Linked DNA regions of Homo sapiens: regions 1, 2, 3, 4 and 5 are each linked to region 6. Evidence: promoter capture Hi-C in human tissues and cell types (Jung and others, 2019). All regions are on one chromosome and are shown on one strand. Each heading gives the region's core, a stretch centred on a gene start or on the middle of the fragment in contact. The rest is flanking DNA. Distances are from core to core; before and after follow the strand shown. Region 1 holds the start of LOC105373791 (a long non-coding RNA gene). Region 2 overlaps GULP1 (GULP PTB domain containing engulfment adaptor 1). Region 3 has its middle 44 kb from the start of COL3A1. Region 4 has its middle 140 kb from the start of DIRC1. Region 5 overlaps LOC105373791 (a long non-coding RNA gene). Region 6 holds the start of DIRC1 (disrupted in renal carcinoma 1).

What was found. The method cuts DNA at HindIII sites, captures the fragments that hold promoters and counts their contacts. A contact is called where the count stands out against the background at its distance.
Region 1: a fragment that was not itself captured here is called in contact with the fragment with the promoter of DIRC1 in region 6 in 2 of the 25 tissues and cell types used here (bladder and heart left ventricle).
Region 2: a fragment that was not itself captured here is called in contact with the fragment with the promoter of DIRC1 in region 6 in 2 of the 25 tissues and cell types used here (aorta and mesenchymal stem cells).
Region 3: a fragment that was not itself captured here is called in contact with the fragment with the promoter of DIRC1 in region 6 in 2 of the 25 tissues and cell types used here (H1 embryonic stem cells and hippocampus).
Region 4: a contact is called between a fragment that was not itself captured here and the fragment with the promoter of DIRC1 in region 6, in 2 of the 25 tissues and cell types used here (IMR-90 fibroblasts and mesenchymal stem cells).
Region 5: a fragment that was not itself captured here is called in contact with the fragment with the promoter of DIRC1 in region 6 in 2 of the 25 tissues and cell types used here (heart left ventricle and mesenchymal stem cells).

The regions. Positions count from the first base shown.
Region 1 is chr2:188,982,259-188,986,947 of GRCh38, forward strand. COL3A1 (collagen type III alpha 1 chain) reads left to right here. Exons shown (of 51, transcript NM_000090.4): 2 at 2,502-2,704; 3 at 2,939-2,989; 4 at 3,407-3,520. LOC105373791 (a long non-coding RNA gene) reads right to left here and starts at 2,561. Exons shown (of 3, transcript XR_007087614.1): 1 at 2,453-2,561. The HindIII fragment of the contact is 5,020 bases long and covers 930-4,689 here.
Region 2 is chr2:188,569,934-188,574,637 of GRCh38, forward strand. It overlaps GULP1 (GULP PTB domain containing engulfment adaptor 1), which reads left to right. Exons shown (of 12, transcript NM_016315.4): 9 at 95-187. Among named protein-coding and RNA genes, the nearest start is that of DIRC1, 220 kb to the right of the region's middle. The HindIII fragment of the contact is 4,118 bases long and covers 1-3,813 here.
Region 3 is chr2:188,928,420-188,933,202 of GRCh38, forward strand. No RefSeq gene overlaps it. Among named protein-coding and RNA genes, the nearest start is that of COL3A1, 44 kb to the right of the region's middle. The HindIII fragment of the contact is 3,820 bases long and covers 1,140-4,783 here.
Region 4 is chr2:188,647,163-188,651,354 of GRCh38, forward strand. No RefSeq gene overlaps it. Among named protein-coding and RNA genes, the nearest start is that of DIRC1, 140 kb to the right of the region's middle. The HindIII fragment of the contact is 4,565 bases long and covers 1-4,192 here.
Region 5 is chr2:188,964,523-188,969,222 of GRCh38, forward strand. LOC105373791 (a long non-coding RNA gene) reads right to left here. Exons shown (of 3, transcript XR_007087614.1): 3 at 1,936-2,144. Among named protein-coding and RNA genes, the nearest start is that of COL3A1, 7.5 kb to the right of the region's middle. The HindIII fragment of the contact is 5,923 bases long and covers 1-4,700 here.
Region 6 is chr2:188,787,853-188,792,441 of GRCh38, forward strand. It overlaps DIRC1 (disrupted in renal carcinoma 1), which reads right to left and starts at 2,271. Exons shown (of 2, transcript NR_161166.1): 1 at 2,011-2,271. The HindIII fragment of the contact is 6,834 bases long and covers 1-4,589 here.

The sequences.
Region 1 (4,689 bases), core at 2,190-4,689, 200 kb after region 6:
TAAATAACAACGTTAATACTTATAACATTGCATTTGACCCAATTTTAACAAACTCATTTACAATTTTAATAAGTCAATATTGTGCTCATTTATTTAATAATTAGCAGAACAAATGGAAAGTACTGTATTTCTAATGATGTGAGGACACCCTTAATGAGACATAAACATAGGAGGATGAATACACAGGAGGGAAAAGTATTTATGTTAATTTCTAGGCAGATCAAGAACATATAGAAGATACTTAAAATAGGAAATGTTTGAGCCTAGCTTTAACTATTATCTTCATTTGTCTTTAATATGCCTTTAGTATTCAATGGCTGTTTTTCATAATCCACGTGCTGTATTAAGTGTGAAAAGATATGCCTGATCCAGAGGCAATGAGCTAAAAGAATCATCTGTACAATCTAACAATGCTTTTGAGGATGGATCTGGAGGGCTTAAAATACACATTATTAATGGGAAAATCTTGGGCTGAAACTAATCTGTAGGAATATTTCATATAAAGTTGATTTGGAGAAAATTTTTAAGTGGTTCATTTTGAGAAAAGGAACCAATGTAATTACAGTGTTCCATGTAATTTTACTGCACAATCTTCCAAACCCAAATTTTCGGACCTTTTCTGCAGACTGGTGAACTTAGTACTTAAATATGAAACGCCAGTTCTGTCTAGAGAACAAAATGAGTTTAATGCATAGACTCACCTGTTATTACTCTTCACACCAATGTGTAAATGACTGTTTGCTCTTCTATTAAATATATTTTCCGTAACACCATTCAAATAGGCCTACTTCATTTCCACTGAGATAAGCATTTTGGTATTCAGCTTTTATATTCACTAAGAATTAAGAAATGCTGTTTTAAAAGCTTAGGAAATGTATATAGAAAATATATCCCATGTTCTCATATATGTGTTTCAGACATAGGGGAGGAATTAGAATAAATTTTCTAAATAAACAAATTATTTGCCTACTTAAAATTGCAATTAAAAAATGAAGCTTTCCTTCGTTAGCTGTAAACTACATTGAGAAATTGTAACATAAAAAAGAATGGATTTTTAAAACTTCTTGAGTAGATCAAGTGTCTTGTACAATATCATTAAATTTGTATCAGAACACATAAATGGAAATGAGGTGGGGAAGCAATTGCAGTACTTTCTAGAGTCTAGGTTTTGAAATTCTTTTTGGTGAACATTTACTAAATCAGCTAAACATTTCAACTCATTTAAACACAAACCTAAATTATTATTACCCTAGACAGAGAGATGATATAGCAACGGGACCTCGAAAAGGTGATCTTTTGTGGCTGCATGTAGTGCCCAGATGGAAAAATCTTAGGACCACTAAAAGGCCTCTTGACCACTAGGCGGCAAAAACTAATTTTGAACTACTTGCCTACTCGGTAGCAGGCCTCTTTCAATAGACATTTTAAATATCTTGGCTTTGAGAAAATAAAAATTTCACCATCTCACAAAAATATAAATTACTGAACAGTACATCATTTGTTGTTTGCAAAAATTTTTGCAGATGCTTAGAAACTTATTATTTATTTACTCAATTACTGGCAAACTATCATACTAATTGTCAAGAACTAAAGTTGTATTTAACCACAATACACAGCTAATGCCTTAAGAATTGAGACCAGGTTTTGTTTTGGCAATTCCTAAGCTGATTCATAGTTAATAGCTGCTGAAATTTCAGTACCTTGTATATAATTATGAAGCAAGTCTAAAATTTTGGTTGAAGCAATTTTTTTTACCATTTTAAGCCACAAATACAGATGGTTATGATTCATATTTTCCCTATTATTTTTACTTATTCCTTGCCAATGTTTATTTTAAAAACATCTTTTTCTTTTCTTTTTGGTGATTTGGAAATGTCTTTACATCCATATGGGATATACAATATATTATGTCATATCATGTTGAGCTACTAATGCCAAATAGAGCTAACAGTGACATTCAATACACATAATAAGTTCTGTTAAAACTTTCCCAGGAAAATCTGGTAGAGTTTTATGCTGCCAAGATTAGCTCAGTTTTCCCCTGAATTTCTCAACTAGGTTGATAAAATCCAGAAAGTCTTCAGAGTTAGTGACAAAATCATCTCTTTAGTTTAATGCTCCCATCTGCTGTTAAGGCAAAGAATAGCAATTGGGTAGAAGAGCTTATTTTCAATGTTCCTTTAATAAATAAATGTTTAAATGCTTGTGTGATATACATTGATGTTAATTCTTACTATAAATGAAATTAAAATATCTGCTGGTCTTAAGGAAAATTGACTATGGTGTGCCAATTTTATGTTAACAAGCAGATATGATATTTTAATTAATTTCTTGCTACTTAGCAAATTACATAGGGCAAGTATAATTTTCTAATGAAAGGAAGAAATTATTTGTTTCAAACCTTTTCAACTTTGGCTATTGTTAATAGTCCTAACAGAGTAACAAAAATCACCTTTCAGCAAAACCTAAGGAAACTTCACGTCATCTAACTTGTTTTTCAGCTGTTGAAGGAGGATGTTCCCATCTTGGTCAGTCCTATGCGGATAGAGATGTCTGGAAGCCAGAACCATGCCAAATATGTGTCTGTGACTCAGGATCCGTTCTCTGCGATGACATAATATGTGACGATCAAGAATTAGACTGCCCCAACCCAGAAATTCCATTTGGAGAATGTTGTGCAGTTTGCCCACAGCCTCCAACTGCTGTGAGTTTAAAGATAAACTGTACATCTTCAATATTCATATTTAGACACATGAATAGCTCCTATATCATAGGAGCCTAAAAGGGAATGAAAGTCATGTTCATCAAATAGCCATGTTTGTATTACGAGTAAAAAGTGACCGTTTCAATTTAAAGATAAGGATTGGTTAGAATCTGGGTTACTAAATAATATGCAAATTCTGTGTCTTGTTTAACTTGTTTCTTTTCCATTTATTAGCCTACTCGCCCTCCTAATGGTCAAGGACCTCAAGGCCCCAAGGGAGATCCAGTAAGTAAACATTCTTCAGTAGAATAAAATTAATACTAATGATAATTCTAGTAAGAGTTTGCTTTTTCTAGATTTGAGCTTTCATCATACATTCTCTTCATTACCACATATTTGAATAATGGCACCAAACAACAGACTGAGAATCCATAATTGTACGTGTAAAGATTTCAATTTCCCAAACTTCATATTATGTCTTCACCCCCATGATCAGTTTAAAGAAAATGTGTAGGTCAATATACAAAGGAATACATTATACTTAAATTATTCACAAGATTTTGATTAAAAAGTATGTGTTATAAAGAAAATATATTACTTATATTGTTTCCTAATATTATAAAGTAGAGAAACAACAATCTGATAATGATTGTGAATCACCAGGATTTTTCACTATTTAATTTATTTTTATCTCTTTTTTAGGGCCCTCCTGGTATTCCTGGGAGAAATGGTGACCCTGGTATTCCAGGACAACCAGGGTCCCCTGGTTCTCCTGGCCCCCCTGGAATCTGTGAATCATGCCCTACTGGTCCTCAGGTATAACAATTACGGTACTTAAAAAATTCCCTCATAAAACTATCTAGTTCATCTTCTTTCTTTACTCGATATTACGTCTCACTATTATGAGTTCTTTGTATCTGTTCTCTGATTCAGTGTATTTAATAAATCCTTATTTAGTGCTTCTATGTATTAGGCACTATTCTAAGTACTTTATAAGTATTCATTTTTCCTCATAATGCTAATGTCATTGCTACTATATCCTTGGAAAATTTGCTAATTTCTCAGCAGATATATAGCATACACATTATGTTTAAGAAGTGAACTATGAACTTAACAAAAAAAATTAACCTAAATAATTTAGTTAGTACTGTATCCATACTTTATTCTCCTACTAATACCAATGTCAAAGCCTCTAAAAGTTTAGACAAAAAGAAGTTGAAGAACTGTTAGTATTCCTATTGAACAGGATTATTTCTGCCTATGAAACTGCTCTTGCTAATACTTCAGAGCACACCTTGCTTCTCCTGAAGCATGGCAGCCAAATAAATCTGCAGGTAAAACAACCAAACAAATAAATATGACAAAATTTCTGTTGCATGGAATTAGGTGAAACGAGAAAATATATTACACAAATTTTTGTGAGGTTAAAAAGTGCATTTCAAAAAGCAATTCAACAAGAACCAAAGTATATTGTCTAAGTTATTCTTATTCTAGTAACCAAACAGAACCTAACTCTAGACCTGGAACTTAGAATTTAAAAAAAGCTTCAAAGAAATCTAATAAGCATATGAGCCTTTCTACTATTTTTTGGTTTATTTTCTATGGAGATGTTTATTTTTGAGTGAATCTTTTAGTCATATTAACCAGAATCCAGGGGATATGAATTTTACTTGTATCATTAAGTGTTTGAAAAATAATTTGACTTCATTTTTTTGCTCAAAATGAGAAGGTGTATTATATGATCTCGAGACTCTTTTGGCCTCAAACAGCCTATGATCCTATGTTTGTAATGATGTAGCTACTGCTTAGAAATAATAGCTTAAGTAAGCGCATAATAGGAAAAATTGGGGGGAACTAACATTGAACACAGTGGAAAGATTTGTGCATCCCACAAGAAAATGCTTCTGTAGGATATCTAACGTCTAAATCTACAGAAAGACACGATAAACAAGATAATTAGTGAATACATACCACATCTTTTGGCA
Region 2 (4,704 bases), core at 505-3,004, 220 kb before region 6:
GTTTTACGTAATATAAATTCCTACTCATAACTGTAGCCAATATTTTCCAAGAAAAAAAAAACAGAAAGTTATTCAATAATGATTTTCTTTTTAGATCCAAGACTTAGAAACAGAAAATATGGAACTTAAAAATAAAGTACAAGATTTGGAAAACCAACTGAGAATAACTCAAGTATCAGCACCTCCAGTGAGTATATTGAATATCCTTAGAAACAAGATTTTATGGTGATAAAACATCTGTGTATCACTAGTTCTGCAATATTTCATATAATACTTGGGGATCAGTAATTTCAAAGTAAACATGGATAGAGATGAAGGCTGCTAAGCAGTTTAATTTAAAACTTAAAATTACCTAGTCAGTTCAAATCAGAGTTGTTTTCTATGTTGCTGTTTTCCTCTGGGTTTTCTAACATAATTCAACCCTCAGGTTAGTCTTAAGTTTTATTACATAATATAATTTTTCTCTTTGTGGCATATTCTTCTTTTGTTTCTATTAATTACTATTTGCTGGGTTAGATTTAATGACCTATGCCAGTCTCCCCTTGAAGTGCTCAACTTCATTGTAGGAATTCAACTGTGAGCAAGACTGAACCTGGTTTCTTATATTACATGGTAAGGGTTCCCGCTGGGAGTGAGGCAATTGTATTTCAAACATTAAAATGAGTGGTATTCTCTGCAGACAAAACTCAAGTCTTTGTAGTTAAAATATTTATGTCTGACTTGTCACAGTTTTGAAATCCTTTTCCCAATACCATGTATGATATCATTATTACATGATTTTGGCAAAGGGAATTTATTGGAGGGAGGTGGAATTTAAAACAATATTTTTTCTAGGCAAAATATATTCAGGAAAAGATATTTTTCTGTTTGAATCATCTGTACTACTGATATTCTTTATTAAAGTGTATTTATTATTCTTCATTTAAAAATATTTAATATCTATGCCAAGCACAGTGGCTTATATCTGTAATCCCAACATTTTGGGAGGCCAAGGCAGGCAGATCATTTGAGCCCAGGGGTTCAAGACCAGTCTGGCAACATGGTGAAACCTTGTCTCTACAAAAAATACAAAAAATTATCCAGGCATATTGGCACACACCTGTAGTCTCAGCCACTGAGGAGGCTGAGGTAAGAGGATGGCATGAGCCCAGAGGTCATGGCTGCAGTGATCCATGATAGCACCACTCCACTGCAGCCTGGGTGACAGAGAAAGACTCTGTTTCAAAAAAAATTAATATCTAACTTATAACATAAACATGAACTGAAAAAAGAAATTTGTTGCAAAATTTTTTATGGAAGCTTATTGTGCTTCAATACGTAGGATAAACTCAATGAAAATGTTCATTTCTTAATATCTAATACTAGAATCATTCACAAGCTCATCACTATGAAAAAGGATGTTTCTATAGAAGTTTCATTTAGGGTTTCAAACTTGGCACACTCTGGAAATGGGTCAAAAAATGATTTTTCCTGTAAACTCACATTTTTCCACCTCCCATTTGAAAGAGTGAGTATTTCCATTGCTTGGCAGATGGTTTGTGCCAGTAGGGCTCCTATGGCCTTGATGAGAGAGGTTGGGACTGAGGTACCAATGTATCTATGCTGGAGCATCCTCTTCAGGTTCTGGTTTTATTCTGATATTCCTTCTTATTTTTTCTTGTCACTGTCTGCTGCTCACCAGGATTATGATTTTTTTCTTGCCTCTCTCGCTGCTAGGGACAGAACATCAGTTCAAACTCATTATTCAACCTTCCATCCCAAGATGGAACACACATCCTCTTGGGTTTTGTTGAAATTCATATTGTAAGCCATGTTGCGAAATATGCTAGGAGAATAAGAATAAATGTACTTCATTTATGTGAAGGGAAGTAACTTTTTCAAGGAGTTTTGATAACGTAGTTGTTTCTGGAATTCATCACATATGAAGAGTAGCTTTGCTTTCATTTTTGTGTTGACAAAGGAGTAAAATAAGCTCCATCACCTTCTTGGATGCAAATCCAAACCTGGTCATTGTGTAACCTCTTTATCTGAGGAAGAACATTTGAGAGGAGCAAAGAGGTTTCAAACATATTAATAAAACTGCAGCCTACCTTTTTTATCTTCCCAAAGCAGACACTGCTCTGAGAAGAAGGTGGGTCAGGATTATTAATGTGCATTGGTGATCTCATAGGGTTACTGAGTCAGCTTCAGAAATGACAAAGGACAGGAGGAATGACAAGATGACCCTTGCTTCAGTGTCTTTGACCATTTGGCTGAAATAGCCATTTCAAGTGGAAAGCATGCAAGTTGGTATATAAATGAAACATAGCCTATTCATAAGTATAATTCATTTATTTAGCAATTCTCATTAGTAGAGCCAGTTATATATAAAGAGTAAAAATAATGAAATAGCTATGTTTTAAAATGAATTAGCACTCCTGAGGTTACATCATTTAACAATTATTTTAGGCATTGTGTTCATCTCAGCCTGGATTTATCTAAATAAAATGCTTCAAAAACTACAACTAAGAGGTTGAATTTAAAAACAAATCACTTTCTTTAAATCACGGTCTTACACTGAGTTCATATATATGTAGAAAATTTATTGTATCCTTGATCATTATGGAAATAACAAATTATAACTTTGCAATCTACTTATAGTCTTTTGTCATGTAATGTTGTTGTCTACACTTTTTCTTTAACTTTAAAAATTATTTGTCACATGGCTTTTTAGCTCTTAAAATCTTATCATATGATTTTTTAAATTGTTGATATGCTGGAAGATATACATCTTCATTAAGATAGAATCTGGAGGACATTATACTAAGTGAAATAAGCCATGCACAGAAAGACAAATATCACGTGATGTCACTCATATGTGGAATCCAAGAAAGTCAAACTCATAGAAGCAGAGAGTAGACTAGTGGTTGCTGGGGGCTGGGGCAGAGTTGTGGAGAAAGGGTCTAGAAGATGATCAAAGGATGCAACATTTTAATTAGGAGAAATAAGTTCAAGAGATCTCTTGTACAACATGGTGATTATAGTTAATAACAAGGTATTATATACTTGAAAATTGCCAAGAGTAGTTTTAATTGTTCTCACAACAAATATGTGAAAATAGAATTTATTTGATTTTTAGAAGAAAGTGAACTCAAGAGCATTTTAAAATTGCTAAAATTTAAATGTAAAATTAAATGCTAAAATGTAAAATGTAAATTAATGAGATATCTAACCAATTCAAATGGTTTAAAAAACATTGTTACAGCATTTGCTAATGTGTTTCCTATTAAAAAACATTTTTGCCTTTCATTTCAAATTTTAGTAATGTAGCTATGAAATAAACTCGTAGAACACTTAAGTACAGCTTATTTATCTCATATCTATTCAAATGAGCTCCCAAATTCCTGATATTAAAATAAAACAAAAATAGTTACCTGCAATTATTTTTGAAGATTTATTAATGATTCAGATTATTGAATTTGAAAAACAGACAATGCAAATTGCAAATAATAAAATGTGAATTTAAAATATTTAATAGCTTACCATGTGTCTGCAATAAAGCAAATTTCTGTTAAGTTAGAAATGTTTTACATCTGTTCTTTCTTATGAAATTTGAACATCAGTTTTACAGGACACACAGCAGGAACACAAAGTACCTCACAGAGTGCCCCCATGGCTAGCAAAGTAAATGTTTAATGAGTTTATAACCCTGGAAATAGGACTCTGTGGGTTTTATGTGTTTGTTTTGAGCTCAGAGGACTGAGGATTAGAGTGCTCCAAAATGAGTAAGTTCTCATCAGTTTATTCAAAGGATTAGAGGCAGTGATCTACACATTCATTAAAGAAGCATTGAAGTAAATTATGAATCCCGTGATGCATATTGAATTACAACATAGGTGGGTATGGTGTATGCAATTAATTTAGCATCTGATGAGTTTTTAGTGGTGAGAGGAGCCCCTAACACAGAAAACTCTTCACAACTGACCAGCCCAAGACAGGTCTTGATCCCATTGGAAGCCAAATTTTTCAAGTCACAGAAAGGTGACACTTTTGTCAAAAATCTCTAATTGAGGTGTAGTTCTTTATAAATGATTTAATGCTATAATTTGGTTCACAAATATATACTTATAAGCACAATAATGTTCTAAAATATCTGGATATGCTGGTCTAACACAATATAGTTCACACTAAGCAATTGCTAGTCAAATAAAAGACATATTTAATCTTAGCTTTAGTATAGTCTCTTTGGGGAAAGGGAAAGAAAAAAAGTAGGAATGGAATTTTGGGAGTTGTGGAATTAAAAGTAAAGTGAAAATAAAAATAATGTAAATCACTATTATAGATATTATTTTATTTTCAGTTTATGATGAAGTAGAAGATGAAGCCAGATGTGGCAAGCAACAGAAACATTCTTGATAAAATTTGATTAGGCTGGGCATGGTGGCTCATGCCTATAGTCATAGCACTTTGGGAGGCAGAGGTAGGCTGATAGCTTGAGTCCAGGAGTTGGAGACCAGCCTAGGCAACATGGCAAAGCCCCATTTCTACCAAAAATACAAAAATTAGCTGGGCATGATGGTGCATGCCTGTAGTCTCAGCTACTTGGGAGGTTGAGGTGGAAAGATTGCTTGAGCCGGGGAGGTGGAGGCTATGGTAAGCCTGGGAGGTCAAGGTTGCAATGAGCCGTGATCATGCCACTATATTCCAGCCTGGGTCACAGAGTAA
Region 3 (4,783 bases), core at 1,800-4,299, 140 kb after region 6:
CTTCTGGCCTGCAGGATTCCTGCTGAGAAATCTGCTGAAAGCTGTATTGGTGCTTCCTTCAATACGTTTCTTACCTCTTGCTGTTTTCTTTGTCTTTGATTTTTGGTAACTTGATTGAGATATGTCTTGGTGAACTCCTCTTTGAACTGAATTTTATTGGCCACCTGAGGGCTTCCTGTGCTTGGATTTTCATCATCTTTCCATAGATCTGGTGAATTTTCAGCCAATATTTGTTAAATATGTTTTCTAGGCCTTTCTTTTCTTTTGTTTTCTGGAACTCCTGCTATGTGAATATCACTTCACTTTACGGTGTCCCGTAATTCCTATGGTTCTTTATTCTTTTTCATTTTTTCTCAAAAAGAGATTGAATAATTTCAAATGTCCTATCTTTGAGCTTGATGATTCTTTCTTCTGCTTAATCAAGTCTGCTGTTGAAGCTTTCTATTGAATTTTTCAGTTTAGTTATTGTATTCTTTACCTCTAGGATTTCTATTTTTAATTGTTACTATGTCTTTTTCAAAAAATTCTCATTTTGTTCACACATTGTATTTCAAATTGTATTTACATTTCTATATTTTTTTTATTTCCCTGAGCTGCTTTGTAAGGATTATTTAAAATTCTTTGTCAGTCATTTCATAGATCTTCATTTCTTCTAGGTACATTATTGGACCTTTATGGTTTCTTTTGTGGTGCCACATTTTCCTGATTTTTTAATAATTCTTGTGTCCTTATGTTGATGCCTGTATATTTGATGAGACAAATCCTTCTTTCAGCCTTTGTGGACACTCTTTGGTGGTAATAGTTCTTTACTATTTAGTCTAGGCTGAAAATTCTAGATGAGTTGGCTGGTAGCACCACAAGGCAGAAAGATGTTGGTGTCAGATTTTCTGGTTGAGCTGGGTCACTTCCTGTTCTCTGAGGTCTAATGATACGGTTGTCTATGCTCCATGCTCTGGTGAGACCTCTGGCTAAATTCTGCTGTCAGGCAGAGTTGCTAGCTAGGCTCTGTGGTATTCTGTGACCAAGAAGGGCTGCAGGTTGTCCTCCCTGGTTAGGAGACACTGTTATTTGGAATCTATAGTTGGGCAGAGTCATGTGCTGGGATCTGAGGCTAGGTAAGGTATCTCAGGTTGCTACTTAGCCACACAAAGTGGGCAGGGTGAGAGGCAATGCTCTGTATATATGATGAACTTGGGCTTGCTTTTCTGCCTCGGATAGGCTTAAATAGAGCACAAAGGCTTGGTGGAGTTGCTGCTCAACAGCTGGGGTTGGATGTGTACAGATGTGCCCTCTTCACTTTATCACTGACTTGAAATTGTCTCCAGATGTGAGAAAGACTTAGCTAAACCACAAAGGCTCTGTGAGGAAGCTGGCTAGGGACTCAAACCTGGTAAACCTGTGAACTATGATTCCTGCAATGTGATATCATTGGCTGGTCCTCTAATATGGCACCTTTGTTGACCAGAATGCAGAGCGATGAATTCTAAAATTATTCTCCAAATGTCCTATTCTAATATCTGAGAATGTGAATAAAATAGATAGTATTCCCATGATTAGATTATGCTATGGCACAGTTGACTCTAAAACAGAGATTATTTAAGTGGTCCTGACCTAATTGTAAGAGTCCTCAAAAGCCAAGAGTTTCTTATGGCTGATTATAGAAGAGAACAACAAGAATTTGAAATTCAGGAAGGATTTTACATGCCATTGTTGATTTGAAGATGGCAGACTTTACTTGCCAAAGAACAAGAGTGACCTTTAGGAGCTGAGAGCAGTTCTCAATTGATAGTGAACAAGAGAATGAGAACCTCAACCCTACAACTGCAGGAAATAAGCATAAGCTTAGAAGTAATATTTTCACTGAGGCCAGGCACAGTGGCTCACACCTATAATCCCTACTCTTTGGGAGGCTGAGACAAGAGGATTCTTGAAGCCATGAGTTCGAGACCAGCCTGACCAACATGGTGAAACCCCATCTCTACTGAAAACGCAAAACTTATCCAGGCAGGGTGGCACATGCTTGTAATCCCAGCTACTCAGGAGGCTGAGGCATGAGAATCACTTGAACCCAGGAAGTGGAGGTTGCGGTAAGCTGAGATAGTGCCAATGTACTCCAGCCTGGGCGACAAAGTGATATCCTGTCTCAAAAAAAAAAAAAAAAAGAAAAGAAAAAAAGTAGTATTTCCACTGAATCTCCAGATGAGAACTAAACCATTCAACATGTAGATTTTAGCCTTGTGATACTCTGAGCAGAAAACCCAGCACACTATACCCACTATACCAAACTTCTAAATGATCAAATTTTAAACTAATTAGTGGATGTTGTTTCAAGCCACTAAGTTTGCAATAATTTGTTGCACGAAAATCAAAAAGCTAATGCTAACCAAGCTGGCCTCATTTTTAAATGTAAGTTTAATAGTTGTAAATGCATACTACACAGAAAACTATCATTTAAAAGATAAATAAAGTATATTTTTCGTGGAAGAGCTTTGATATGGCATTTCAAACTTTCTTTGGGCAAACATAAATCTAATTTATCCCTCCAAGTATAAATGATTCCATTTCTAAGCCATTCCAGAAAACCCTTTCCCAATGTATTTCTGTGTTAAATAATTCTCACAACTATGAAATTTCCTTCTAAATCTTCATTTCCTCAGGTTAGTGGCCGCTAGTGTAATATATGGATACTATCTGCTGCTCCTACCTAGGCATCTTACACCTTATATAAAAAATGTATACATACTGTTGTGAAAAAGTAAAAATACATAAATAATCTCCTTAAAGCTGTTAGACCTGGGAGGCAGAAGTTGCAGTGAGCCGAGATATCGTGCCACTGCACTCCAGTCTGGAAACAGTCTTGTCTCAAAAAAAAAAAAAAAAAAAAAAAAAAGAAACTGTTAGAGATGGAAGGGAAGGGGAAAGAACTGCAAATGGGACCTAGAATGGCAGCAAGAACCCAGGGAATTTTAGCAACCATTTTGTTTCTCTTTCATAAACTGCAGGATTTTTCTCTTCATGCATTTCTTAACAACAATTTTCTCTGACTTCTAAAAATTTTAGCTTCATTTTGTCATAATATGATTCACATGTATGGCAGTTTTTTGAGTTCTGATCTTTTTCTCAATTGGCAAATCATTTCCATACTTCTGACTCAGTGTTGTAAGAGAGAGAACCTGGCTGGATAAGCTCACTTTATTCCACCAGTCCACATTTAAGGCCAGTAGCCAGTCTAAGGAAGGCTACCACTGGATCCCTGAGGCAAAAGAAGGGTGAGATCACAAGCTCTAAAATTGATTACCTGTGCAAACAATAGAGATAGCTGCTTCCAAGAACAGACTTTGCCCAGTGGTCATCAGCTCTAATAAAGACTTCATATTGGCCGGGCGCGGTGGTTCACGCCTGTAATCCCAGCACTTTGGGAGGCTGAGTCTCGCAGATCACGAGGTCAGGAGATAGAGACCATCCTGGCTAACACGGTGAAACCCCGTCTCTACTAAAAATACAAAAAAATTAACCAGACGTGGTGGCGGGTGCCTGTAGTCCCAGCTACACCGGAGGCTGAGGCAGGAGAATGGCATGAACCCGGGAGGCGGAGCTTGCAGTGAGCTTAGATCATGCCACTGCGCTCCAGCCTGGGCGACAGAGTGAGACTCCGTCTCAAATAAATAAATAAATAAATAAATAAAACACTCATATTTATTTTCTCCATCTCTCTGATTTACAAACTAAAATTTGCCTTATCTCTTCCTACTGAAATAACAGAAAAATCACACTTACTAATAGGTGGGAGACGTAGGTACAAAAACAAATCTCTGCAATTGAACAATTACAATGTAACTAAGCTTTCCACAGAAGATTTTACTCAAAAATAATTTTCTGGAATGTTACTATAGTTGTGTTATAACTATACGTCTATAAAGGTAAGTGGAAAATTAAACTGAGCCAAAGTTAATTTTGAAACTATCAGATAATCAGAACTGAGCTGGGAATAAAGTTATTAAATCATGTCCCTCAATCCTTCAAAAAATATCAGCCAATAAATAAGAACTTTGGTTTGACATTGCTTATATTAAAGTGAACATTCTGGTCCTAATTAGCTAACAGTAAACAATGCTCCAATCAAACAGTTCTTTAATTTCAAGAATGTAATAAATGTTATACAAGTTCCAAGGAGATGATATCACCTTTTTCTTATATAACTAAAAATAACCTGTAAACTTAATCTTGCCTTTGGATAATTAATGATTCCCAGACACATACAGAACAGGAGAGAAAGGCACAGCTGAAGGGGATAATAGTATGAGTAAGAGTAAAGCAAAGGTGAAAACGGATAATGCCAGTTGAGATACTGCGAAGACATGGAACAAACCATTAATAAAGTGTTTTAAAAGTTGGTTTGTAGTAGATTAAGCCCTTGATATACAGGATGTATGGATAGAAATGTGTAAAATACACTGCTCATAACAATCTAATGAGTATAAGATAATACATTTGATGGCCGGGCATGGTGGCTCACACCTATAATCCTAGCACTTTGGGAGGCCAAGGCGGGCGGATCACCAGAGGTCTCGAGTTCAAGACCAGCCTGACCAACATGGAGAAACCCTGTCTCTACTAAAAATACAAAATTAGCTGGGCATGGTGGCTCATGCCTGTAATCCCAGCTACTCGGGAGGCTGAGGCAGGAGAATTGCTCGAACCCAGACGGTGAAGGTTGTGGTGAGCCGAGATCGCGTCATTGCACTCCAGCCTGGAAACAAGAGCAAAACTCCATCTCAAAAAA
Region 4 (4,192 bases), core at 772-3,271, 140 kb before region 6:
CAGAAAAAGAGCTAGAGTCAGAGTAACAAGGCCCTACTTACTTTACTTGACTTCACTTATTTGCTGGGTAGTACAAGAGTTACATAATTTTGATTTTGATTCTTTGTTTCTTCACCTGCAAAATGAGATAATTATTAAGAATAAAAGAAGAGCTAATTTTGTATGAATAATAAATATACCAATACACAGTATTATTTCCGCCATCATTTTGTTTGGAAACCCAGCATTACATGGTATATTTTTAATTTTTTACGATTGTATATAAGTGGAGGGGATCAATAATTATAAAAATGGTTTTGACTACTTCATTTAAAAGTCACGTATAAAAAGTAGAAAATATATATATTATATTTCCTGCTGTGCAATCTTAGGGAATTGTGGTATAATCTGTAAGGTTTTGATTTTGCAGCTGTGTTCATTAAGATAACTTTGGACTAAGTCTCGGAAAAAAATTATTGTTGCCAGGAAATCCATCACTAAAGTTTTTAAGTTTCACTAAATTTTCCAGTATTGGATTTCTCAAACAGTCAGATCAAATCTTTTCATTATAGCACATACTTAAAAAGAAAAAAAAAAAAAAACCCTTGACAAAGTATGAAGCTTATTACTTCACACTTGAGGCGTCTCATCCATCTTCAAACTGCTTGCCATGATCCATCAGCTATAATCACCAATTAGATTAATCTTGTTTAAGCTTTGGTTCATTATGTTTTTGTTCACCATTTCTTGCCCTGAAACACTGGATGACCCTGCACCTTCTACTAAATTAAGGTCAAATTCCTTAATCTGGTGATCACAGTCTTCTAAACTATGAATAACCACTCTGTAGCTTTATTATGTATTTCCATGGAATTGGGAGTCTCTATCCCAGCTGTCCTAAGCTTCTTACACTTTCCCTAAACACACATTAGGCTTTTCTTCTTTTAATGACTCTACAGCTTGTGATTAACACACTTCTCTACCATCTTAGTCTATCAGACGTATTTATTTCAAGGCTCATCTTACATGTCTAGAGTAAACATAAATTTAGATTTTCAAGAGAGTCTATTCTATATATGTTTTAATGGGAGTCATAATTAATAAGATTCCTTTAACCCTCAAGAGTATTTCATCAAGTGGTCGTGAATTCAGTCATCCTGATGATCTCAAATACTTTAGTAGCAAGAAAATCTATTGTGGTATAAAGCCTTACCCATAATGGAAAGACAACAATTGTTTGAAAACAAGTAAAGCAGGGGAGGATAGTGTAGAGGAAGTAATAATACAAGAGGGGTGCCAACAAATATGAGATTAACCTTGGTAAAGAAAGACTATACCGGAAATGACTCTTTGTTTATGGCAGAAAAGAAAAATAAGTTAGCAAATTAAAAAATAGTATATGCAAAGCTGCTTATTAAAAGCTTGTATAGTTCAAAATGATTGCTTACATTGTTATTTTTTTAATATATATTTTAATTTTTAGGGTACATGTGCACAACGTGCAGGTTTGTTACATATACATACATGTGCCATGTTGGTGTGCTGCACCCATTAACTCGTCATTTAACATTAGGTATATCTGCTAATGCTATCCCTCCCCCCTCCCCCCACCCCACAACAGGCCCCGGTGTGTGATGTTCCCCTTCCTGTGTCCATGTGTTCTCATTGTTCAGTTCCCACCTATGAGTGAGAACATGCGGGGTTTGATTTTTTGTCCTTGCGATAGTTTGCTGAGAATGATGGTTTCCAGCTTCATCCATGTCTCTACAAAGGACACGAACTCATCATTTCTTATGGCTGCATAGTATTACATGGTGTGTATGTGCCACATTTTCTTAATCCAGTCTATCATTGTTGGACATCTGGGTTGGTTCCAAGTCTTTGCTATTGTGAATAGTGAATAGTGCCGCAATAAACATACGTGTGCATGTGTCTTACAGCAGCATGATTTATAATCCTTTGGGTATATACCCAGTAATGAGATGGCTGGGTCAAATGGTATTTCTAGTTCTAGATCCCTGAGGAATTGCCACACTGACTTCCACAATGGTTGAACTAGTTTACAGTCCCACCAACAGTGTAAAAGTGTTCCTATTTCTCCACATTCTCTCCAGCACCTGTTGTTTCCTGACTTTTTAATGATCGCCATTCTAACTGGTGTGAGATGGTATCTCATTGTGGTTTTGATTTGCATTTCTCTGATGGCCAGGGATGATGAGCCTTTACAGTAACCAAAACAGCATGGTACTGGTACCAAAACAGATATATAGACCAATGGAACAGAACAGAGCCCTCAGAAATAATGCCACATATCTACAACTATCTGATCTTTGACAAACCTGACAAAAACAGGAAATGGGGAAAGGATTCCCTATTTAATAAATGGTACTGGGAAAACTGGCTAGCCATATGTGGAAAGCTGAAACTGGATCCCTTCCTTACACCTTATACTAAAATTAATTCAAGATGGATTAAAGATTTAAATGTTAGACCTAAAACCATAAAAACCCTAGAAGAAAACCTAGGCAATACCATTCAGGACATAGGCATGGGCAAGGACTTCATGTCTAAAACACCAAAAGCAATGGCAACAAAAGCCACAATTGACAAATGGGATCTAATTAAACTAAAGAGCTTCTGCACAGCAAAAGAAACTACCATCAGATTGAACAGGCAACCTACAGAATGGGAGAAAATTTTTGCAGTCTACTCATCTGACAAAGGGCTAATATCCAGAATCTACAATGAACTCCAACAAATTTACAAGAAAAAAACAACCCCATCAACAAGTGGGTGAAGGACATGAACAGACACTTCTCAAAAGAAGACATTTATGGAGCCAAAAGATACATTTTTATTTAATGATACCATGCTTTTAATGTTCACTTAATGTAGTTATAAATGACAAATTGACAATGTTATTTTTTTAAAAATGTGAAATACGAAAAGAAAATGATGGTAGAAATGGATAATACAGAGTAGTAATTTGGAGAATAGACTCTGAAAGCAGACTGTCTAGGTCAGAGTCCTGCCTTTTCTTCTTAATAGCTATATCATTTTGCCAAGTTTTCTAACCTCAGTTTCTTCATTGTCTTGGTTTCCTCATTGTGAAATGGAGGTGACATATCGGTGCCTACCTAATAGAATAATTATGAGATCTCACTTAGTATAATGCTTGGGAATCAGTGAGCCATGTATTAGTAATTGTCAATAAAATAATTATATTTAAGTTGAAGAACAGATTTGAATGGAAAAGGTACTAAACACATTCTATTACTTCTTGCTAATCTGACTGATAAAAAGATATTGTGCCAGCTATGCTTTTTCCATATGATGAGATTCATATACATAAAGCACTGTTTATGTAGGTAGCTTGTTTAGGTATTTAGGTAGCTATTTAAGTACCTTAATTTAAGTTGGTCATAGCACTTATGAGGAAAAAAAATAGCAAGGAGAAATTTGTGATTACTGCCATTGGTTGAACAACTAATTTTTTTAGACAAAACATATCTTCAATCCGCCATCATTCTTAAATTGTAACTATACATAAAGGTTATGTTCTGTATGTGCTTCTTTCCACATTTTATTTATTTATTTTTTGAGACGGAGTCTCTCTCTTTCGCCCAGGCTGGAGTGCAGTGGCGCATCTCGGCTCACTGCAAGCTCTGCCTCCCGGGTTCACGCCATTCTCCTGCCTCAGCCTCCCAAGTAGGTGGGACTACAGTCGCCCGCCACTACGCCTGGGTAATTTTTTGTATTTTTTTTTTTTTAGTAGAGATGGGGTTTCACCATGTTAGCCAGGATGGTCTCGATCTCCTAACCTCATGATCCACCCACCTCGGCTTCCCAAAGTGCTGGGATTACAGGCATGAGCCGCCGTGCCCTGCCTCTACATTATATTTAAGTCATTGGAAGAATATTAAATGTGGAGTGCATATTTGATTTGCTTTGACAAAAAAGTAGGCTTTGTGCACCTCCGTTTTATATATTTATGTAGATTATCAAGGCAAATAAATTTAAGATTCTTGATCTATTGAATTTAAGATGGGACTGGTGTTTGGAAGCATACATTTACATGTCAAGTGCTTCCTCAAAATGTTTGGAAATATTTTAAAAATTGTTTGCTGTGGATTCAAATGCAAAATTATGGCAGAAAAGTGTCATTCCACAGATGAACAGATCATAGTTTAATGTCAACAAAGAGTTTAAAACA
Region 5 (4,700 bases), core at 1,147-3,646, 180 kb after region 6:
TTTAAAAACAATTAAGCCTACCCTCAATGATTCCACCTATAGGAACACGACAATAATATGTTTTGAACAAATAAGTAATTGAGAAAAAATTGAACAAAATGTAGTTACTCAAAATTATTCCATCAAAGAGGAAACCACTTATTTGAATATATAGTTTTGACATATTTAAAAGCATAGGGGTATTAAATTCACACAATATATTGGGATTAAAAGAATGGATTCCAGAACCAGACTTCCTGGATTAGCATCTTGGCTCTGGCATTTACCAAGTGTGTAATCTTAGACAAATCAGTTTACTCATTTAAAAAAAACATATGAAAGTAGTACACATTCATAAGAATGTGATGAGGGTACTTTCTGTGTGTGTATGTGAGTGTGTTTGTGTGTGAGTGTATAGTACCTAGTATGCACGAGCCCTATTCTAAGTTTATATATGTGTACATGTGTGTGTATAGCTATGATTATTCAGAAATGCTTTATTGTTTTAATTATAAAAAAACTACAATTATTTTTTCATAACAACTTTTTTATACTAAGAAAATCAACATATGTAGCCCATTTCATAATTCACCATTAGATACACATTTGCTGAGCAACTAACATGCCAGGAACTGCATCAGACATTAGATATTTAATATTTCTCAGATTTTATTTTGAGATGATTGAAGCTCTCTGCATGACACTTTTTAGGGCTAACTACTTAAATCGCACAGTCAAAAACCATTTCTGAGACTACTTTAATTGTGAAAGACTCTCTTCCTCTTCTTCACTCAACCCCATTTTTTGCCTTTATCTATGCAAACTAACATTTGCAAGCCAAGCTTTTTCTTATAAGCTTTTGGGAAAAAAAATTATCTCTTGGATAGGGATCCAAAATAAACAGTTCAAATAAGATAGGCTTTGGGAAAATGTTAATAAACTTGACTCTGGCAAATTATTTGAGTTTCCTTGTGTTTCTTTCACTTGGCAGGGATTTTAATTTGGAAGTTAAAAAAAAATGAAGAAAAATGTCCTAAGATTTCACACATGGATACTTTTATTATAAAATGATAATTTTCTTATAAAACCACAACTCAAGGTTGAAAATTGGGGGGGGGGGTTAATTTAAACTTAAATTATATAAAATAGATTGGACAAATAATGATATTGCCAGAAAACTTTGAATCATCCATATTTGACTAGAATCTCAGCATCTCATCAGTCAACAGGTCCTTACCAAATGTCTGCCCTTTTGGACTGCTTGCTAGGTGCTAAAGAAACAGTGACCACCAAAACAGACGCAACTCTTTCCCCGAGGAGCTTCCAGTCTTGCAGAAAACATAAAGTAATAATTATGAGCAAATTATTATAACTATCAGAACATAAATGAAGCACTTTTGGAATGCAGCCATTCAATATGATCCATATTTAGGTATTCTTCTTTAATATTGTAAAATATCTTTACCCAAAATTTTGGTGCCCATTGTCCCTAAATTCTAAACTTTTGAGAAGAAGAAATGAGAAGCATTATCCTTATTTCTAGTGAAGCAGAAGAAAAGTTAACTACAGCAATGTAGTGGTGGGAATAACAGTGAAGAAAGCTGACACACACCGTGATGGGTACATATAGGCACTGGAGATGTTGACTGGCTATCACTGCTGCTGTTGTTTCCTCTGGTTGCCTTGTCATACTTTCTTCTTAATAACAGCTAGGAAGGATTTTGCTAACTAGTGGGCTGCAATCATTAAGGACTTGGTGAAATTCCAAAATCCACAACCCCTAGGAATTTTCCTGGATCCCCTACTTGGAGAAACATTGTAAGCAACTTACAGCACACTAAATCAGAAAGGTTGGCCTGTAAAACCATTTATGTAATTCCTCTGCTTTTGTTTTGGGGAATCTTCCAAAAGACGTGTCTAGAGAATCAGATATAATTTGAGCAGAGTATGCTAACGTGGCTTCAACAATGATTTTACTTTTCTCGTAATTTTGTACTCAACAATCATTTTTTCCAGTGATGTGTCATGCTGTCCCAGTTGACTGTCTGGCCATATTTTGCCCTGGTGTTTGCTATAGCAAAAAGTGCAGCTATAAAATTATCTTCTTCAGCTTGATGTTAATTTCGATGAAATCTTCCAAGATGTATCTTTTTTCACCTCTAAATCTATGTGATAACAAAAGATCAAACAGTTCTCGATCATATTTTGAATGGGAAATATTGGTATCATAAAATAATTCAAGAGCCTTATTTTAGCTACTTATTTCTTTCTAGTTAGTCATCATAACAAATAACCAGCGAATGTACTTTTTTTCTCCCCTTCCTCTCCATAAAAAGTATGTCACTTGCACAACTTCAAGTTAGGAAATGGGAAGGGTCAGGGAAATCTCACACAATCCTACCCAGTTTGATCACACATTACCTCCAACAGCTAGCCTTCAGCTGTTGATCTAACACCGCCAGCCACACCCTAACTAAAATTTTAGAAGTGACTGTTTTAGCTGGGCACCAGGATACAATCCATGGCGACACACCCCTGATGCTGAATCTAGGTCAATGTGGTTGTCCACTTTGCAGCTAACCTTGCCCTGAACAACCAAAAAATAGATTACAATTTCTACACATAAAGGGACCACTCTAGAATACTATTACCTGCCTTGTATGTCTCCTTAGCATGCTCAACTAAACAGATTGAAGTTCCCACAATTCTCATGGGAATTGAAGCTAATAAATCAAGCAATAAAATATAAAGCTTTAGACATTTGTCTTACATTACATGTGGGGTGTCTGTATTTGTGGGAAGGTAAGGAATTTTCAGTATTTTGATTTGTATTTTTTCTTTTTTTATTTGACATTTTGCACAGTTTTTTCCTTTTAAAAATTTCACTGTAAGGAAATTGAGTCAAGAAAAATGAAAACAATTTAAACAAAAAGTGTGATAATTCCTCTTTGAAGCATTTTAATTTCATGATGCTTATTTATATGTCATTTTTTTTCTTTTTACCCTAAAATAAAAATAAATTAAAATTATGATGCATTTCTAGTTCAATTATTTCAATTCATTTTGAAATTAACTTTTGGCTTTTCTGTCATTCTCTTTCATGATCCTTGGTAAATTACCTGTATTTCTTTCTATTTTATAAATTTTTCTAATGGTCTCTGACTTGTAATACTTGTGGTGAACACAGAGTTTGACTGCTTTCAATTTATTTCCTAACTAGTTCTATTGTTTATTTTTTCTATTTTATAAATAAATTCATAACATCTGGAAGTTTTTTAAATCGATTATAAATCCAAAGACTTCCTATGCTGGAAAGAGTGACCTTCTTTTTTAAGAGTGATGGAAATACTGGAAATAATTAACTTATTGAAAATTACCATGAGTTCTAAAGGATACAAAGGAAATAGATTACTTCAAATGTGTTTTTCTGGATTAAGTGTTTCATATTTTAAATCATTCGCCATTTGATTCTTATTAATTTCCTACTATGCACAAGGCCATGTAATAGCTACGATGGAGTATAAAATGAAAGATAAACCTTAGTTTTTCCCTGGAGTAGCTTTCAGCCTAGTAAACGACATAAAAAGATGTAAATTAAAATAAACTAAGAGGCATAGGAAAGGTAAGGTAAATTAGAAGAAGAGCAAAATGATTTTAACAGGGAGGATCAGAAAGATTTTGTAGATTAGTTGATCTTTGGGTAGAATCTTCAAAATAGGATTTGAACATACAGAATGAGGAACAATCATTTTAGACAGAAAGACAGTATATGCAAAGGTATAGAAACCCAGAAATGTAGAGTAGGTATTGGAAAAAAAAAAAAAAAAGAGCCATTTGATTTACTAAGAAGATAGTTCTTGGATCAAGATGAATTGCATATCAAGAATTATCTAAAATAGTGTTTTGTATCCTGCTGGGTTTGGGTTGAGAAATAGAGAGAGTGGCTGGACATGAAATAATAGAAATCAAATTATATTAATCTATTTAGTATTATTATCCAAAGGTTAGCACTTTGAATAATCAATATGGCATAATTTTTATGTGAAGACTTTCTACTTGGACTAGTTTATTTTCATGAGTCATATGTTTCACCTTAATCACTTTATGAAATATATCTGATATCTATAAAATAAAGAGGTGAAGAGCAGAAACTGATCCATGGTCTGGGTCCTATATTGATTTTTTTAAGAAATGCTTATATTATTAAACACGTAATATTTTAAATACTATTTAATGCCATCCTAATTCAGTCAGTCTTCGTTACATTGATCAGTATTCATTATGTACAAGGGACTGTGTTTACTACTGTTCATGATTTTTAAAAGTGGGTGAGGGTAGGAAACAAAAAAGGTTACAAAGAGGAGTAAAATAAGTACATAAAGAAATACAAAACAATGCTTCTAAAACGGACATTGCCACAAGAAAGCCAAGACTCCAGAGGGCAACACTTGAATCCTTGGGAACGAAAGGAGACTATTTGCTGTGGCCTCCTTCCTCCAAGAACATATACCAAGAACATACCTAAATGTAGAGTTCTTTAAACATGATTTAATGTACAGACAAAAATGAAGGCTTTAGACAATTTAGTAGACAATTTAATAGTCATGGCAAGTTAAACACAGAAAGGTCTGTTTATGTCTGTTTATTTTAGGCAAGGGAGCCTGATGAGGAGGCTTTCAATTTTTGTGTACTTAAGAATTATTTGGAATCAAAGATCCTAA
Region 6 (4,589 bases), core at 1,021-3,520:
TGACTTTATTAAAGCTTTCTCATCTACGAGGCATGAGAATATGTTTGTGAATCTGTTTCTCTTTTGTTTGGCAGTGAGAAGTGCAATTGCTCTTTAATTAGAACCTTCTGTGTACCATAAATATGGTTTAACCCAGGTGTTTAATCTACCTCCAATGCAAGTGCAAATTGGTGACATGAGTCAAATGACAATTTTATTTAATTATCAGACAAGTTAGGAATAGCTAAACGCCAGCCACCATCAATTCACTGAGTTAAGGATCTTTGCTAATAATTACAGCAAAAGAGAGGGGAGTAATAAAGGGAGTGTACTGGAAATCACAGTAGACAAGATCATGAGACTAAATGCTAGACTTGATGATTCTGACAATATTTATCTGTATGGGAATGGCCAAATCTTTTAAGATTATTGGAACTTGGTATTCTTATCTGTAAAAATTAGGACTATTATTTCTAAAATATTTCACCATATAACTTATAAGATTATACCCAGCTCTCAGATCCTGTAATTCTAATCAACACATAGAAAGACATGAAAAAACAGAAAGAAGTAGACGAATATTTATTAGGTCGGCTATTGTAAGAATTTATGGATTTAAGAAACCCATATTCAGTCTTCACTTTATCACTGATGTTTTGTTTTCATGTCATTTTAGTAAAAATGTTTGCTGATATTGTCAAGGGATTTCCTAGCTAAAATATAATTAAAAGATCTCTCAGTGTCATTTCTCTTCTAATTGCAGTTCCATCACATTAATCTCCTACAACTAACTGAAAATAGCAATGTCATTCACAAATACAAAGAAATATGTCTAATCAAACTTCATTGAAATAACACAATTACCTCCTTTCCCTAATGTTTGGCTGTAAGCAAAATCCAAGAGCTGTATCTTTTATTTTTCTTTGTGTTAGTTCCTGTTCATGTGTGGGAGAACATTGGTCAGTGACTCACATTACTGACACACAGCCAGCACAGCTGGATAGGCACAGAATGCATTTCATAATAAAAGGGACAAAGAAAGAAAGATAGAGAAAAAAGTTTATGTGTTTGGTTTATTTTAAAAATCTATACAGCTTAATGCTAAAAAGCAAGAACCAAATTTTTCTAAACAAACAGCTTCAAGGAAAAATAATTTTGGAGGGACTAATTAAAATTACTTTAAGAACTCTTAATATGTAAAATACTTCTTTAAGGCAGCTATTCCCTGTGGAAATCTTACCCTCTCCCATGAAAAAGAACCAGCAATTTATGACTGTCATGAGAGTAAAACTCTAGTGAGAATTTAGAAGTACACACAATAAAATAAAAATACTCCACAATAGTTTTGAACTCTTGAAGAAAATGACAGGAATAGTATTATGTGTAACCAAATATATATATATACACACACATATATATACGTATATATACATATATACGTATATATATACACATATATACGTATATATACATATATACGTATATATATACACATATATACGTATATATACACATATATACGTATATATACACATATATACGTATATATACACATATATACGTATATATACACATATATACGTATATATACATATATATACGTATATATACACACATATATATACACATATATATATATATACTCAGAAATATCTGCACTCCAGCTTTGAAAATGTGAGTTAGCTGACACATAACAATGTCAAAGAAGACACATTTTTACAGAAGAACTTTCCTTAAATAAAATAACATTTCCCAATCCATTAAATGTAAATGACATAGTCACTTATCATATATTTTGTCTATGCTGTATAGAAGTTAAATTAAGTTGTTCGCTGTATACTTAAAACTAAAGGTTTTAGGATATGAGGTACTTTACAGCATGTCTATTATCACTAGTAAGAAAAGACTCTATAAATGTAAAAGGAAAGATCACTTCTTCAGACTATGTTAATAGAGTAGACTGTCCTGGCCTAAAATCTTATGATTGAGAAATGAGTGCCATAGCCAACCCACCATTTTGACAGAGCTCACCTGAATTTTTCCTTCTGGTGATGAGAAGCAATGCCAGAATTTCTACTCCAGCCATCTTCACACTTGTGGAGAGAAATTCAATAGTGATACATTTGTAGTGAGGAGAAAGATGTGTTAGCTTAACAACTGATGCAGGGTCTATCTTTTAAGGAAGATATTGTGTTTGTGGAGGAAAACATCTTGGAAGGTATTTAGAAGTGGAAAGTAAGACTTTAAGGGCAAGAGAAACTCTGCCCATGTCAAGAGACACAACTAAACTGCTTTGTATTTGGAAATCAATAGGAATTTGGAGAGAGAAACTAAAAACATGAGTAATCAACAAAAGATGATTTAACCTACATGATCGGAATCTGAAGCCCAAGATTTGGAAGGAGAGAGGGAACTTTAGGAACATCAATATCTAACATAGAATATTACATCTTGAGCCTTTTGGCAGTGTAAATCTCTACATCCCCTATAACTCAGTAGTCCTTTACACATATAAGAGTTTCTATAAGTAGTTTGGCATAACTAAGAAAAAGTATAGTGATCCACATCTAAAACAATATAATGCAAAACATAATAATACATATTGGACATTTAGATTATCCCTAAACTGATTCACACTAAGCAGGACTTAAGAGCTGAAAGTGATCATAAATTCTGATGAAATTTGAAAATTCTTGAGATACAGGTTGAACTCAGTGGAAAATACATTGAATCAATCTTACTGATCTCAAAAGGCAGGGAAATGCTGTTGAAATTTAGTTTACATAATTATTTTCTCTTTTTCTGGCTGTCCTTAAAGCTAACACTTGGCATGATACTAAAAACATTGTTTTAAGAGAAAATCTATTGTGGACAAATACAAGCTTTAGGAATAAATTAAAATGTTTAGAGGAATTAACACATCTGTGTAAAATTTTACATGTGTGCCAAACTGGTCCCCAAGCTAAAACTAGTGACATATTAAAACCCAACATATTAGCTCACACATTTACAATGAAATACAACACTTTTCGTAATACTATAGTTTGTGACAGTTCAAGAAGTGATGAATTGGAAAACATGCTATGATAGGCATGGGCAATTTAGAGCTCAGTCTGGACAATCGGTGATGATTAATCTTAAGAGGATTTCTGAAGTTCAGGCAACAAATGATTAAAAATCAACTTCAACAATAGTCAATGATGGCTGAATGTAAGATATTTAAACATGCATTGGAAAATACAATGGAACTAATTGTAGTCATGGACATTGAGAGAAGACTTCTGGATTCAGACAAATTTTTGCTCACTCAAATCCCTGTAACATTGTTTACCTTATATTACATGTCATAAATTGACTACGTTATGAAATAGGAAGGGTAATATCTATTTTTAAATGTAATAATTATAAACAATGTATAAAATATGTGACACAAAGAAGACTGGCAGTTTATAGTGACTATTGTATTATTATTTTGATTTTAGTAGTTGAACAGGAAAAAGAGAGAACAGCACAGACTGAAGTATTTATATCTCAATAATTAAACTTACTTAATATTTTCTATTATACATTTACCTAAAAAGTACAGGGCTGATACTTCCATATTTATATGGAATAACAGTTCTTAAAATATATAAAGCAAAATATTATTGAAATAAAGAGATGATCGATAAACTTGTAAAATTATCATCAGAGATGTAAATACCACCTCTACAATAGGTAGACCAAAATTAGTAAAGATACAAAATAATTTAACAACACAATAAACTTGAACTAATTAAAATACAAGGTCTCTATCCCAAAGAACTACAAAATAAATATCCTTTTTAAGTAGAAAAAAAATTCACTAAAAATATATATTTCAAGCCATAAGACAAGTCTGAATAAATTTCAACAACAGAAATCATTCATAGTACAAACCCTGACTACAAAGGAAGAAAGTTAGAAATCTCCCAATTATTTGTAAACAATGCACTCCTAATCAACCCAAGAGTCAAAGAAGAAATCAGAATTTGCACAAAACAGCTGAAAGAATTCTATCACTTATCTATTGATGTGTAGTGATCCACCCCAAAATTTAGTTGTTTAAAATAAAAACCATATTCTTTGCTCATAATTCTATGGCTCCACAGTTGGAGTTGAGGAAAAGGGAGTGTTGTCTGAGCAATTCACCTGTTGGTCTCACATGTAGGAAGTTTATACAGAATGTGGATGACTGATTTCTTCTCCACATGGTCTTATTTACTAGTTAGCTAGTTCAGGTGTCTTTACTTAGCAGTTGTGCATGCCATTTAAAGTGGAATTATTTTAGTTTAATATGACCAATTATTTGGTGCTTGTATATGCAAATAAAATTCAATTTAATACCATTGTATCCTGAAAACTTGTCAAATTCACTTATTAGGTAGGTTTTTTTCTTGGTAGATATCTCAGGAAACAGGTCAATTATCAGTAAATAAAATTTGGCTCCATGATTTTCAATATTTACACATTTTATTTTTTTTGTCTTGCTTCATTACACTGTGTAGGACCTCTATTACAAAGTTAAATAGTAGTGGCATGTGCCAGGTTATTGATTTATTGCCTCTCAGCTCCAAATCCACACTTCTTTG